4 separate regions of the Homo sapiens genome follow, and all the other regions are linked to region 1. The links are contacts of gene promoters, found by promoter capture Hi-C in blood cells and fetal thymus (Javierre and others, 2016). All regions are on one chromosome and are shown on one strand. The core of a region is centred on a gene start or on the middle of the fragment in contact, and the rest is flanking DNA. Distances in the headings are between cores, read along the strand shown. Region 1 holds the start of PROK1 (prokineticin 1). Region 2 overlaps SLC6A17 (solute carrier family 6 member 17). Region 3 has its middle 9.7 kb from the start of SLC6A17. Region 4 overlaps SLC6A17 (solute carrier family 6 member 17).

Region 1 (3,277 bases), core at 229-2,728:
GGCTCTCAATAAATATAGTCAATGAATAAATAAATAGATGAATACTCGCAAAATCGTATGATGTAAATGCTATTCTTATCCCATGTTATAGATAGGAAAACTGAGGCTTGGAGAGATTAGCAATATTTTCAAGGTCATGAAGCCATCGATCTGAATCAAAGCATCTGCCTCTGGGGGCTTAGCTCCCAGCTCCCGTGCTAGTTAACCTTCCTCTCTGCACTCATAAATGCCTATCAGCGTTTCAATGTGGAAACCCTAGACCCCTGTGACATTTGATAAGAAAGGTTTTGTGGATGAATCTGCTTGTGAAATACTACAAACTGCATTTCCCACTTGGTGTTTCAAACACTTATTAGCATATGAAAGGCCCTGAAAAGTTCTGCAAAAAACAAGCCGGTTTGTGTTTCCCAAATTTTTGACTGTAGAAGTCTTTTATTTGTTTATTTGTGTATTAACATATTGCAACACATACCTTGGGAAATGTTGGCTTTTATTACTGTGGAGAGAAGGCAGATCATCTGACAAAGCACTGGGAGCTCTCTCTGGGTCGTATGACACAGAGAGGGCTGGGGTCAGGGGCTTCCCTCACAGGCGGAGGGGCCATCCCGAAAGTCAACTTCCCACCAGACTGGCATCTGAGACCACCGTGTTTATACACTCACGGATAAGGCCACTCTCATGCTCACCCCTAAAACTGGAAGGCCAGTGGTGTGGCTCTGGTACCTTTCAGCCACAGCCCATACCAGCTCGGCTCTGCAGGGTACTGAGAGAGTGTGTGCCCTGTATGTTTGCTGGCTTTCTGCCCTTGGGTCATTGTACCAAGGGACACTTGCTGGTGTTCATCCTGAGCCCATGAGAGAGCAAATCCTTATGTGTGTGTCACTTAGGAACATCAGCCCCACAAGTCTGGTCTTTTTTTCCTCACTGTCTTATGGCTCCTCACTATAATTTTAACCTTTTAGAGAAATAAGGATACCACCTCACCCTCTTCTGTCTTCTCAGCTACCTCTGTGTTGAGCCCATGGTAAATGCCTAGATAAGTCTTGGTGTGAGTGAGAGGGAACCAATAATCTTGTATGTTGCATAGTTTGGTGCAGGGAAGCATAAATGGTGATGTTGCAAATCCCTTAATTCATTACCAGAGGCTTTCCTCTGCCCCAAGTAGGATAGAAGGATACCCAGAGGCAGAAAAGAACATTGAGTGAAATATACATAACTGTCTGAATCACTGCGTTCTTGGGAGAGTTAGAGCAACCGTCAAAGCCCCCCAAGTATCCATTTTTATTGGTTTTGATGTTGATTTGATGTTGTTAGAGATTCAGGTCTCATCTTCGCTTCTGAGATCATCTGAGTAACATCGGTGTTGGAGAAGGGAAGAGCAGAGATGAGGCATCCACAGGCAGCCCTGGATCCTGAGTGTAAACATCTGGGAGGAGGCGGGGGATGCAGGAGAGCCTGGCCTCCCCAGCTTGCCAGGCACAAGGCTGAGCGGGAGGAAGCGAGAGGCATCTAAGCAGGCAGTGTTTTGCCTTCACCCCAAGTGACCATGAGAGGTGCCACGCGAGTCTCAATCATGCTCCTCCTAGTAACTGTGTCTGACTGTGCTGTGATCACAGGGGTAAGTCGCCTAACATTCTCTGTGCCTTGGGTTTTGGGAAGATGTCAGGGTCTGCACGGGTTGTGAGCCCAGGAACCATGCAGGAGGCTCTGTTGGCTCAACACAGTGTGAACCAAAGGGAATGGGGAATTATGCATTAAAGGGATTGCATGCGATTTTCAGACTAGTTAGACCTCACTCTACTAAATGGGATCTGCTTTTGAGAAGCTGTGTATGAATCAAATCCTGTTTTCAATGTGTTAGCAGAGCATTGAACATTTTGAAGTTCAGTCCTTTGGTAAAGTGAAGATTCCTATTAAGTAATAAGGAATTCCTTTATAAAGTGGATTGGCAAACCTTAACTTATCTTTTGTGTGAATTTTAATTTTTATTTATGGTCTGATTCACATATTAATATTAATATTAATTTACATAGCATGTTGACTTAATTAAAGGCAGTAAGCTTAATTAAAGGTGGTAAGCTTATAAACTTCTATTGTATAAACTTAACCTCCGCTTAGAAAGGATATCTTTGAAACTCTTTCACTCTGTGCCTGCCTAGTTAGTTCTGAGAGGAATATGGGTGCCACTAACATTCAGCTGAGTGTACCCCAAAGCAAGCATCCAGATAACAAGTAGATATCCAGTCTCGAAGCAGAGAAGCAAAGGTTCAGCATATGGGCACTGTACAATTGGTTCAAAATATTCAGATCATGGTTTTCTCTCGGAAGTTTGCTTTTACCTCAAACCACCTTCAAATAGGGGCACATGATGTGTTATGGTAGCAGGACCATTCTTACTGAAGCAGAAAGCAATGCTGTACCTGAGAGCTTTCCATATAAAATCCACTGGAAGAAAAAGGTCGGGGAAGCAGGGAAACTAACTTTTAGTTCAGCCTCCACCAGCTTTTTACATGGATAGTGGAAATGTAGAGAAATGCCAAACAATTCCTGGAATTGGGTTAATTTTACCATTCACAGAAAGGACAAATTCTTTCTTTTCTCTTTTAAAGGAAAAACACTGAGTTCAAAAGAACAAATATTAAAGGCGAGTCAAATGCTTTTGAGATCCAAAGCAAAAATAAAAATAATTGTGAAGGCAGAATTATACCTAATGAAGTGTTTACACTGTAGGCTGCCCTTCTATGGGGTAGCTTGAAAATCTGGGAGGGCAAGAACAATGGAGAGAAGCCCCGGCTGCTGCGCGGTGAGGGCAGGAGCAGCGTGGTTGGCCTGGATGCCAGGCTTGCCTCACCACCCGTGCCAGCTCCAGCACTGGCCCAGAGTGACAGCAGGGCAGGCAGATCTGAGAGCGGCAGGCAAACATTTTCACGGTGAAAAGCACAATAGAGAGCACTTTTCCCTAGGTGAGGGAAACCCAGGAAAGACAGGTGAGTGGTGAGAACAGGGCAGTAAGGGGAAGTCAGGAACCCCCAGGCTCCCCACATCCTCCATGTCCTGCTGGTGTCCCACTTCTGATTTTCAGCAGGAGCCCAGGCTCCACCACCTCTACACTCCCCTGCTCCCTGGACTGTAACTGTCCCCACATCCAAGGCTTTATGATCCTTCTTCCAAGAGTGGGACAGTGATGCCCCACCTCTATGGGAGAAGAAGAGTCGACTGGGGTTTCCTTTACCCCAACCCCAAGCTTTTGTGGCCTGGCTGGGTGTGAGACGTGCCC
Region 2 (3,528 bases), core at 484-2,983, 260 kb before region 1:
ATAGCCATGAAAAACAAAAATTGGTTTGGTTTGGTTTTGATCCTCCAGAACTCACTTGGAAGCAAAATGACCTGCACAGATGTGAGGCTATTTATAGTCTTTATTGATTCACTTGGTGTGAATATTCATATTTTGCTGCAGAAATACTAACGTGTTTGATTACAGGGTGCTGCCCCAGACCCTGCTGGGGGTGATATGTAATTAAGTAGCATATGCATCACATTACCTTTCTAAAATTAAATTAGAAACAAAAGCTTGTATTCCAAAACCAGTCAGCCCCCAGGGCTTTTAGATAAGGAACCGTGGGCCTGTATTACATTTGTAAAGAAGGTAACATTTCATCTTACTTTAAAAACCAGACATCCGCCTATGCAAGGGGGTGGGCCCCCAGCAGTACAGGACAGCCCTGCCCTGTTTCTCTGGTCACCTGGCTCTCCCATGCTCCGCTGTGGCTATTTTAAACCCTTCCAATCCTTCACACCCTCTGACCTTCCTTCCGGCATACTCATCCCCAGCAGATGATTTTGCCTCCTGCTTTACAGGGAAAACAGAAGCTGCCAAGAAACTCCCTCAGATGACAGAGACAGAAACCGACCATAAAACCTGCCTGCAGCTGCCCCATCCTGTCCTCCCTCCCTCCTCTCTCAAATGAGCAGCCCAAGGGTGGTCCTATGGAGGACAGCTTCCCACCCCATCCCGATCCCTACCCTCCAGCTTTTCAAGACACTCCATTGAAAACAAAAACAAAAAAGAAATCAAGACAACATATAAAAATGCAACCCTTTGTTGATTTCATAGCCTTCTCCGGATACTGCCCTTCTCCTGATCCGAGGCTTGCTTCTCCGAGGACCTGCTTACCCACATTGCCTCCATTTCCTCCCCTCTGCCTCTCTCTTTTCTTCACTTCCCCTGGCTTCTTGCCAGGGAGCAACTCCGAGGAAGCCTCTGAAGCCCCCTGTGGCCTCCTGCGTGGACTCCCTCAGGGTCTTTCACTGGCAGCACTGACCCTTCCTCCTCCAGGCTCTGGGTTTTCCTCTTGCCTCTGCTGCTTCTCCTTCTCTGACTCCCTTTCAGGAGACTCTCCCTCTTCCCTGCATTCAGTGTTGGAGATAGGAGCAGGCTTTTGCTTCTTATCCCTCTGTAACTACAGCCACAGCCTCAGCTCCTGCCAGCACACCTGCTACTCAGAAAGTCTATCTCCAGCTTGTCTCTCTCTGGCTCCAGGCTCATCTGTCCAGCGGACCACTTGGCATTTCATTTTAGATGTCTTAAAGACACATTCAGCTCAACCTTTGTAGAACTAATGTCCTGATCCTCCCTGCCCAACACCATCAACCTGTTCCTCTCCCACTGTCCCCATCTCCACCTGCTCAGGTATGCAGGCCAGAGACATGGCCCTCACCTCGGCCTCTCCCTCTCCAGCATCTCCCATCTCCAGTCCATCCCGAAGGTCTCCTTGGTTTGTCCTGCGAAGATCTCTCCATTGGCACCACCCAGCCCCTTAGCAAAGCCACTGTCCCCTCCAGCCTGGACCCCAGAAGCCGCTTCCTCGAAGGTCTGCTGAATCCACTTATTTCTTTTGGAAATGCACATGATTGTGTCCCCACTTCTTTAAACCCCTCGGTGGCTTCTTGGGTTAGGTGCTTTCTTAGGGTGAAGACAGGATCTGTACAGGCCTTTGATCTAACTTCTCTCCTCTCCCAGCCCTACCTGTGCCACCCCCACCTCGTCCTCACTGCTTCAGCCACCCTGGCACCTTCCATTCCCTTTTACACACCATCCTCTGTCCTATCTCAGGACCTCTGTCCATGCTTCTTCCCGAATGTTCTTCCCTCCCCTTGTGGCCTCGCTTTCATCAGCTTTCAAATGTCAGCTTGAGGACCCCTTCTTCTGGGAAGCCTTGCCTGGCCTCCCAACTTGTTCAGATCCCCTTCTTATGGGCTCTCCAAGCACTGGGTGCCCAGCCTTCACAGCCCTTGTCACATTTGCAATTTAGCATTTGTTCGTGGGATCATTTGACCAATGTGTCTCTCTCCAACTAGAATGTAAACTTGGAGAGCCTGATTGCTTCTATTCCCCATGGCCTCTGCATCGCCTAGCACCAGGCCTGGCCCACAGCAGGTGCTCAGAGATTGATGGATGAGTGGCTACATGTCATTGCCACAGGGAGGCCTTGACACCTTATACCTAATAAGTACACAGGGGTGGGCTGGGGAGAGGGTCTCCTCATAGATGCCAAGGGGCCCTTAGATCCTTAAGGCCTGGGTTCTGGGCTTTCTTGGTGGACTAAAGATGGTTTTACTTATTTTGTGCTGGATGGGGGACCTTAATCTCCCCTGGAGTACACATGCTGTCTGACCAGGCAGTCCTCCTGGGTCTCCATTTGTGCCCAGGCCCTGAAGCTCAAAGGCTCGACTACCATCCCCCACCTCTTTCCCCTCAGCATGGGGGTGCCGCCCTCAGCCTCACTGCTCTGCCAGCGCTCTGAGCTTGCCAACATCTCAGCTGTTGGAGTGCTGCCAGGAGTTGAGACATGCCTAGGAAGCTGCTGAGATGATGGCAGGTGGGCCCTGTGTCCTGGATGTTATTTAGGGCTGTGATATTAAAGACAGCTAAAGTCCAGACGGACCCTAGAGTCCAACACCTCACTGTTCAGGTGAGGACTTACCCACAGGTACTCAGAAGGGGCAGCCGGGCCAGGACCCACACAGGGCTTGTCACCACAGGGAAGTGAACTCTCTGAATTGGCTCCTTGCCTCCTTAGTCTGTCTGGAGTGAGGTCACTTAGGTTCACCTCAGCAGCAAAGGTCACAGGGGAAAATGCTTTAAAGAGTATAGGTGATAGAAAAACTGAGTCAGGAGTTGGTGCTGGGGCCGGGGGCGGGGGCCTGGCCCAGAATATCTATATTTTAGTTATCACTCTGCCCCGACTAACCAGCTCCATTACCTTGAGCAAGTCATTTCATCTTTGGGGTCTCAGTTTACCCTTTAAAAACATGAATAGTAATCCTTGCTTCCTGCACCCCCGCAAAACACAAAACACCCTGTCCTGACGAGGTCAGCCTCATTCTGTTGGGATTGAGTGCCACTACGTACAGGCATTACTTGTTGCTATACATTTGATCCTCACGTTCACTCCGAGACTCTATTACTATTCCCTTTTCTTCAGATGAGTAATCTGAAGCTCATAACACAGTCAGTGCCACTTACCAAAAGCTTCATAGCCATTTAAAGATGGGAGTCAGGATTTGGATCTGGATCTGTCTGAGACTCTAAAGCTCTGTGCTGGGTCCAAGGCTTGGTCCCTGCCCCAAGGAACAAACAATAAAAGGAAAATAGGTTGGAAAGGGGCTTTGGAAATTGCTCCATGCCATCCCAATGCTGTTGCAGTTCGGGCTCCTGTCAGGTGTGAGGGCAGATGGAAGCTTAGGCGGAGGCCCTTTCTCCAGGAATTGTCTAGGTTCTGTGCTTCAGGTTGGGTGATGGTGGGGAAAAGCAGGCGGTTTGGGTTTTTTTTCCTTTCATGAG
Region 3 (3,369 bases), core at 65-2,564, 310 kb before region 1:
TTGCTTTCATCTTCAAACAAATGAACAGGAAAGTGAGTGGAATGCCAGATGGTGATACGTGATTTCAAGAGCAATAAAGCAGGATGAGGCAAAGGGAAAACCAGTGATGATGTCATATTTAGAGAGGTCTCACCACCCATTTCACCCAACATGATAACAATTTTTTCTGTGTTTTCTTTTTCCATAGTATTTTTATGATTTTTAAAAGAATAATTGGACTTTGCAAAAAACAAACTTTTTTGACACAATTGTACATATTTATGAGGTACATAGTGATGTTGTAATACATATAATGTATAGTGATCAGATCAGAGTAATTAGCATATCCATGATCTCAAACACTTATTATTTCTTTGTATTGGGAACATTCAATATCTTTCTTATAGCTATTTGAAATCATATAATATATTATTGTTAACTGTAGCTGTAACTGTAGTGCTATAGACACTAGAGCTTATTTCTCCTATCTAGCTCCTATCCCTCCCTTCTCTCTACCCTTCCCAGCCTCTGGTATCCCCTTTTGCAAAGAACAAACTTCTGACTTTGGTAATCCTTTCTATTGTATGTTTGCTTTCCTATTTGATTATTTTCTACATTCCCTCCTTCTATTTCCTTTGGGTCTATTTTGTAGTTCTTTCCCTGCATTTTTGAGATGGTTGCTTGGTTCATTGATTTCAACGTTTCTTCTTTTCTATCTATTTAAAGCTATAAATATCCCTCTATATACTGCTTTTGATGCATCCCTGTGGCTTAATTTTTTTCTTTTATCAATATTGATACATCTACAATTTATTTTGGTATGAAGAGTAAGGTAAGGAGTCAGACTTACTCTTTTCAAATGACCAAATCAATATCATTGATTAAAAATCCATCTTCTGCTCATTTAAAATATAACCTTTATCATGTTCTAAATGACTGTATCTGAGTTTACTTCTGGACTGTGTGTTCTGCCTCATGTATTTCTCATAACTAAGTCCACATTAATTTATTTTTATTTACTTATTTATTTATTTCTGAGACGGGGTCTCACTCTGTCACCCAGGTTGGAGTGCAGTGGTGCCATCTCTGAGTCCACACTAATTTAAACTTGCAGCTTTGTAATGTGTTTCACCCTCTGGTAGGCTAATTCCTCACCTGACACCCACTAATTCTCCCTTTCCTAATTCCACTGCTTTTTCTTTGTTTCTTTTTCTATATGAGTGTTAGTTTAACTAGCTTGTTTAGTTAAAAAGAAGAAAAGCTTTTGTTATTTTCACTGGGGTCATTTTAGAATTATGGATTAATTCAGAGAGAATTAACATGTTTCTTCTGTTTTGTCTCCCACTCTGAGGACATATAATTTCTTTTCCTATGTTCACACCTTCTTTTGGATCTCTGAGTAGCATTCGGAAGCTTTCTTCACATAGACTTTCTAGAAACCTTTTAAAGTTTATTCCTAAGTATTTTTCTTTTTTGTTGTTGTTGCTATTGTAACTGAACCATTTTTTATATCTTCTTACTACTGGCTGTTGTATATCTGAAGGTGTAGATATTTAATAGGTTAATTTTGTATCCAACCATGTTACTGAATTATCTTGTATAAGTTTTTTAGTTGTAAATTATTTTTTATTTTTATTTTTATTTTTTGAGACGGAGCCTTACTCTAGCCCAGGCTGGAGTGCAGTGGCGTGATCTTGGCTCACTGCAGCTCTACCTCTCGGGTTCAAGCGATTCTCATACCTCAGCCTCCCGAGTAGCTGGGATTACAGACCGCACCACCACACCTGGCTAATTTTTGTGTTTTTAGTAGAAACGGGGATTCACCATGTTGGCCAGATTGATCTTGAACTCCTGACCTCAGGTGATACGCCCACCTCGGCCTCCCAAAGTGCTGGGATTATAGGTGTTAGCCATCGCGCCCAGCCAGTTGTAAATTATTTTTTAAATGAGGCTTTCAGCCTTTAAGGGAAGAATGCACATTATATTTAAAACCCCCAGGGTAAATGGCTATTTAAGGATTCGATGAGCTAATAAAGGTAAGTTGCTTAGAGTAGTGCCTGGCACATCTTCTGAGCTATCGCTAATAGCAACAGTGATAATATTGCCTTGACTGTACAGAGTTTCATCTCATTTAATCTTTACAATGACCCCCATGAGGTTAGAGGACAGATTTTACTTCCATTTTCCAAATAAAGATTCTGAAGGTCACATTCTTTTGACATAGTGATATGTCAAAAGTCACCTGTTAGGCCAGACATGGAGTGGCTTACGCCTGTAATCCCAGCACTTTAGGAGGCCAAGGTAGGCGGATTGCTTGATTCCAGGTGTTTGAGACCAGCCTGGGCAACATGGCAAAACCCCATCTCTACAAAAAATACAAAAAAATCAGCTGGATGTGGTGGTGTGCACCTGTGGTTCCAGCTTCTTGGGAGGCTGAGGTGGGAGGATTGTTTGAATGTGGGAAGTGGAGGTTGCAGTGAGCTGAGATTGCGCCCCTGCACTGCCTGGACGCAGAGTGAGACTCTGTCTCAAGAAAAAAAAAAAAGTCATCTGTCAAGGTAGTGCTTGGGTCAGAACCTGAGTTTTTCTGACTATATACATCACATTGTCTTGAGGAAAAGAAAGAGAGGGGAATCTTTTTGTAAAGTGAAGCGTCCTTTAGAATCACTCGTTCCAAAGGTCTGCTTTGATTTTCACTCTGGATGTTCACACATAGGTATGTTTAGCTGGGGGCACGCCTGCCCTGCTCGATAAGGATTCTATAGAGTCAGATTCTCTAGGGGCAATATGCGGTGCCTCTGAGCTCCAACAAGCCAAAGAGGCACGCTGCCTTTGGAGTTTGGGCAAGGGGGCCTGACCTCTACTTGCGTGTGCCTCTTGGTCCTGTGAAGAGTTGTCCAGTTGTCCCCTTCATCATGGGGCATGGTGGTTCCGAGGCTCCTCTGAGTCATGATGGAGGAAGGTGAGGTGGTGGGCATGGGAAAGGATTTGGAGGCACTTCCTCTTGGCCTCCAGGGCCTCTGACCCCTCTCTGCCCCTCTCTGCCCCTCTCTCTCCTCACATTCTGCCCCATTTCTCCTCCACCTCCCCCAACCCTGCTCGCCACTGGGGTTTGTTAGTGTCAGGAATCCTCCTCAGGCCCTGCAGGGAGGCTTCCATTTTACAGTCTGAATGAAGAACTTTCTAGAAGTTCCTGTGAGGTGGAACCTGGGAATAGAAATTGAGGTCTCCTCTGAGGGAGTAGGGATGCTTCAGAAGGGTTCTGAAGTTTCTACCTCCCATTTAAGCCTAGATAGAAAGTCATCCCCACAATGTCACTATCATGCTCTAAAGCTCTCAGTGGCTCCCTATTATCCTCTGACGTAAGTAGAGGCTTTCCACCATGACATG
Region 4 (3,091 bases), core at 377-2,876, 290 kb before region 1:
CAGAGCGTTAATGCTCACTCACAGACTCGCAGGAGTTGTCATAGAGGCGAGGCAGGGGACCTAGAAGGCTTCAGCTGTCAGGGGATGGGAAGTGGTTAGTCTAGAGTGAGTGGTGAGTGGGCTGGGAGGAAGTGGAAGCCGAGGCCCGGGAGATAGAGGGGGCCCAAATGCCTGGGAAAGGGCCTTGGGCTCCCTTCAGTAGGCAGTGGGAGTGGGGTGGCGTGGCATTTCTAGAAGATGCCACTGAAGGCAATGTGTAGGATGCCAGCGGGGAAAGTGAGCTGGGAGCCTGCTGTAGGCATCTAGCCAGAGAGCAGGCTTGAACTAGAGCAGAGGGGTGGGAAGAGGACAGAGCTGAGCACGCCTACAGGACTTGCAACACCTGGTGGGGGTGGAGGCAAGAGAGGTCAAGAAGGGTGTGGGGTCCCTGCCTGTGTCCTGGGCCAGCAGCATCCAGGGGCAGCAGCCTCCAAGTCAAGGCCAGGCCCTGTCAGGAGCAGTTTGCCCCAGGTGACTGTCAGAGGTTTTAATAAAACAATTAAAAATAATTTGTGTCTCTGATAATAGTCCGGCCTGTTTTGGGCTCAGTAAAAGCTCAGGGGCTCTGAGGTAATTAGGAGAACAGTTTGGGCCACAGCTGCCTGTCATGAAGAAATCAGGAAGCTGCCAAGCATCCTCTGACTTGGTTTCTACTCACCACCAATTATACCTGAGTTAGATGTTGGCTTTGAGGTCCTGAGTGGGGACCACTTCCACTGATTTCCTCTTCTTGGGGGCTCTTCAGGGTGCCTGTTGGAACACCCTGAAGAGGTGCTTTTTAAGGATGTGCTTGGCCACAGCCACTCTTTCCAGAGCCACAAGACCCAAGGGTAGCAGGATCAGGAGCACGGGGAGGGGCGGGGCAGGGTAGGCACTGTGGTGTCTGTGGTCGTTGTAATTAGGTGACTGCCTGCTTCCCCAAAGATGGTGGCTCCCCCACTCACCTCCCCTGGGGAGTCTAACTTGGAAAATAAATGATTCTCTTTGTCCCTTGAGTTACCTGAACCTTCCCCAGCAAGAAACACCCCAGGCCCAGGAGGTGGGTGCTCAGGGAGCTGCCTTCATCATTACAAAAGTGCCCCTCTTCCCTTCTCCTCCTCCCCGGCTGCTGTGGGGTGGAGGGGCTCCAGGCTTTGTCCTGGTGCCAGGGTGAGAGCAGCCATCCCCCACCACCTTGAGCTTATTGCCGGATGCTGTGCTTGAAAAATTTTCGTGGAGCCCTCACCCCTCTGGCAGGAGATATTTTTACCTGTCTGCCTCCCAGTCACACTATTTTTTCTCCTTTCAAGAAGATTCGCAGTTCACTTGCTCCGACCTCCTTCTCTCACAGGAGCTATTCTGAGCTGCAAGCCACCTCTGTTGCTAAGTGACAAGCTGGCACCAAGGGCCTTCTCGGCACTCGTGCCCCTCTGCGCTGTGCTTTCAGGGATGGAGGCACTCCTTTCAGAGAGTACCTTGCAGCTTCATCATCCGACGTGTTGCTCGTGAAAGCCACTTCACAACCCACCCCAGCTACTAAGGGGGGGATAATTAGAATACGGCTGGGCTGGCTGTCACCACATCTCTACCATGCTCCAGTGGGCTCTCAGCTGATGGAGGGTGGCAGGGCAGACAGAACTTACCTTTCGCATCCATTGTTACAGGTGCCTGGGGCAGGTGGCTTCTTGCTCACACCCATAAGCAGGAGGGACTCTCAACAGATATATGCTAGAGCTGAAGGGGGTCTTGGAGGCCATCCATGCCAACCCATTTTACACACAGGAAAACTGAGATCCGGAGAAGTTAGGGCAATAGTACCAGTTTGCACGGTAGGTTGGTCAGGCCCAGCACCTAGCTGGCCTGCTGATGCCTGGATTATGGCTGGTTCCATGAGATACATGGGTACGGGAAGAGAGGAATCGCCCCTCTCAGGGTCCTTCTCTGATCCTGATGCTTCTCCCAGACAAGGCTTTGGGGTCATTGGCTGGGTACACTTTGGATTCCCAGGCCCTGCCTGCTCTAAAAGCTCACCTTTCACCAGCACATGGCTTCAGGGAACTGGGGGTGGAGCAGGGAGGGTTATTCCAAGTCACTATTTCCACTGGGGTATGAATTGAATGAGAGCTGAAGAAGAGGTACCATTCATGAGCACTTCTTGGGTGCCGGCATGGTTCTAAGACCAGTACAATGTATCCTCCTCACAGTATGGTGAGGTGGGCACCGCTGGCACCCTCCCTTGACACATGAGGAAACTGAAGCTCAGAGAGGCTAGAAAAGTTGCCCAGGCCAGGTGGCTGGCAAGCAGTGAGCTGGGGTTGGAACCCAGGCCATCTTACTCCTGAGCAGGATCACCAACCCATGTTGGTAAAAAAAAAAAAAAAAAAAAAAAATGGTTTTAAGCGGTCTCAAGCTATTCCAAACATGAGGTACATTTTAATAACAATAATGCTAAACTTTTAATACAGGCCGTGTTTTTATTAATAATAATATTGCTGGTCTTTTGGGTCCAAGCTGGTAGCTGCGGGACCTTTGCCTGGCTTCCTTTGACACTGGGGTGTGGTGCATGGTAGGACTTTCTAGGGGGTGCCCTAGGTGGACACCAGTTCTGGAGAAGAAAGTGGGCATTGCTGAGGTGGTGCAGGATGCTTCTCTCCACCCACCTCCACTCCCATGGTCAGCTCTCCTTGGCCTTTCTTGAGAAGAAATGGGATTGATGGGACCAAATATCAATATGGGGACTTACATATTTTTTAAATGCATAAAGGTAAACAATGCAAGGCTTCCAGGCAGTGGCTGCTACCATTTGGGTCCTTTCTGTGTGCCAAGCTCTATGTCAGGCACTCTGTGTGCGGCTGCTCATTGGACCCTCACAGCAGCCCTCCCTGGGAGATGGGAGCCATCATTAAATGCAACCTTTTCACCCATGAGGAGACAGACGCTCACATAATTAAAGTGCCTTGTCCAAGAGCACACAGCTAGTGTGTGGCCAAGGCCCCAGGGCTGCCCACCTCCCTCAGAGCACCTGCCCCAGTCCTCACACACAGCACAGCCGTGCTCCTCCCTCCCCAGCACA

Evidence for each region. Contacts are between HindIII fragments. The CHiCAGO score rates a contact against its expected background, and 5 or more counts as called.
Region 2: a contact is called between a fragment that was not itself captured here and the fragment with the promoter of PROK1 in region 1, in 17 of 17 cell types (naive CD8 T cells, neutrophils, naive CD4 T cells and 14 more). The highest score is 15.2, in naive CD8 T cells.
Region 3: a contact is called between a fragment that was not itself captured here and the fragment with the promoter of PROK1 in region 1, in 3 of 17 cell types (total B cells, endothelial precursors and naive CD4 T cells). The highest score is 6.3, in total B cells.
Region 4: a fragment that was not itself captured here is called in contact with the fragment with the promoter of PROK1 in region 1 in 1 of 17 cell types (naive CD4 T cells); the score reaches 5.0 in naive CD4 T cells.

What each region holds. Positions count from the first base shown.
Region 1 is chr1:110,449,671-110,452,947 of GRCh38, forward strand. It overlaps PROK1 (prokineticin 1), which reads left to right and starts at 1,479. Exons shown (of 3, transcript NM_032414.3): 1 at 1,479-1,618. The coding sequence starts at 1,547. The HindIII fragment of the contact is 11,265 bases long and covers 1-2,058 here.
Region 2 is chr1:110,187,961-110,191,488 of GRCh38, forward strand. The region is part of intron 6 of SLC6A17 (solute carrier family 6 member 17); the gene reads left to right. Among named protein-coding and RNA genes, the nearest start is that of KCNC4-DT, 20 kb to the right of the region's middle. The HindIII fragment of the contact is 2,962 bases long and covers 253-3,214 here.
Region 3 is chr1:110,139,075-110,142,443 of GRCh38, forward strand. No RefSeq gene overlaps it. Among named protein-coding and RNA genes, the nearest start is that of SLC6A17, 9.7 kb to the right of the region's middle. The HindIII fragment of the contact is 152 bases long and covers 1,239-1,390 here.
Region 4 is chr1:110,160,635-110,163,725 of GRCh38, forward strand. The region is part of intron 1 of SLC6A17 (solute carrier family 6 member 17); the gene reads left to right. Among named protein-coding and RNA genes, the nearest start is that of SLC6A17-AS1, 6.7 kb to the right of the region's middle. The HindIII fragment of the contact is 4,374 bases long and covers 1-3,091 here.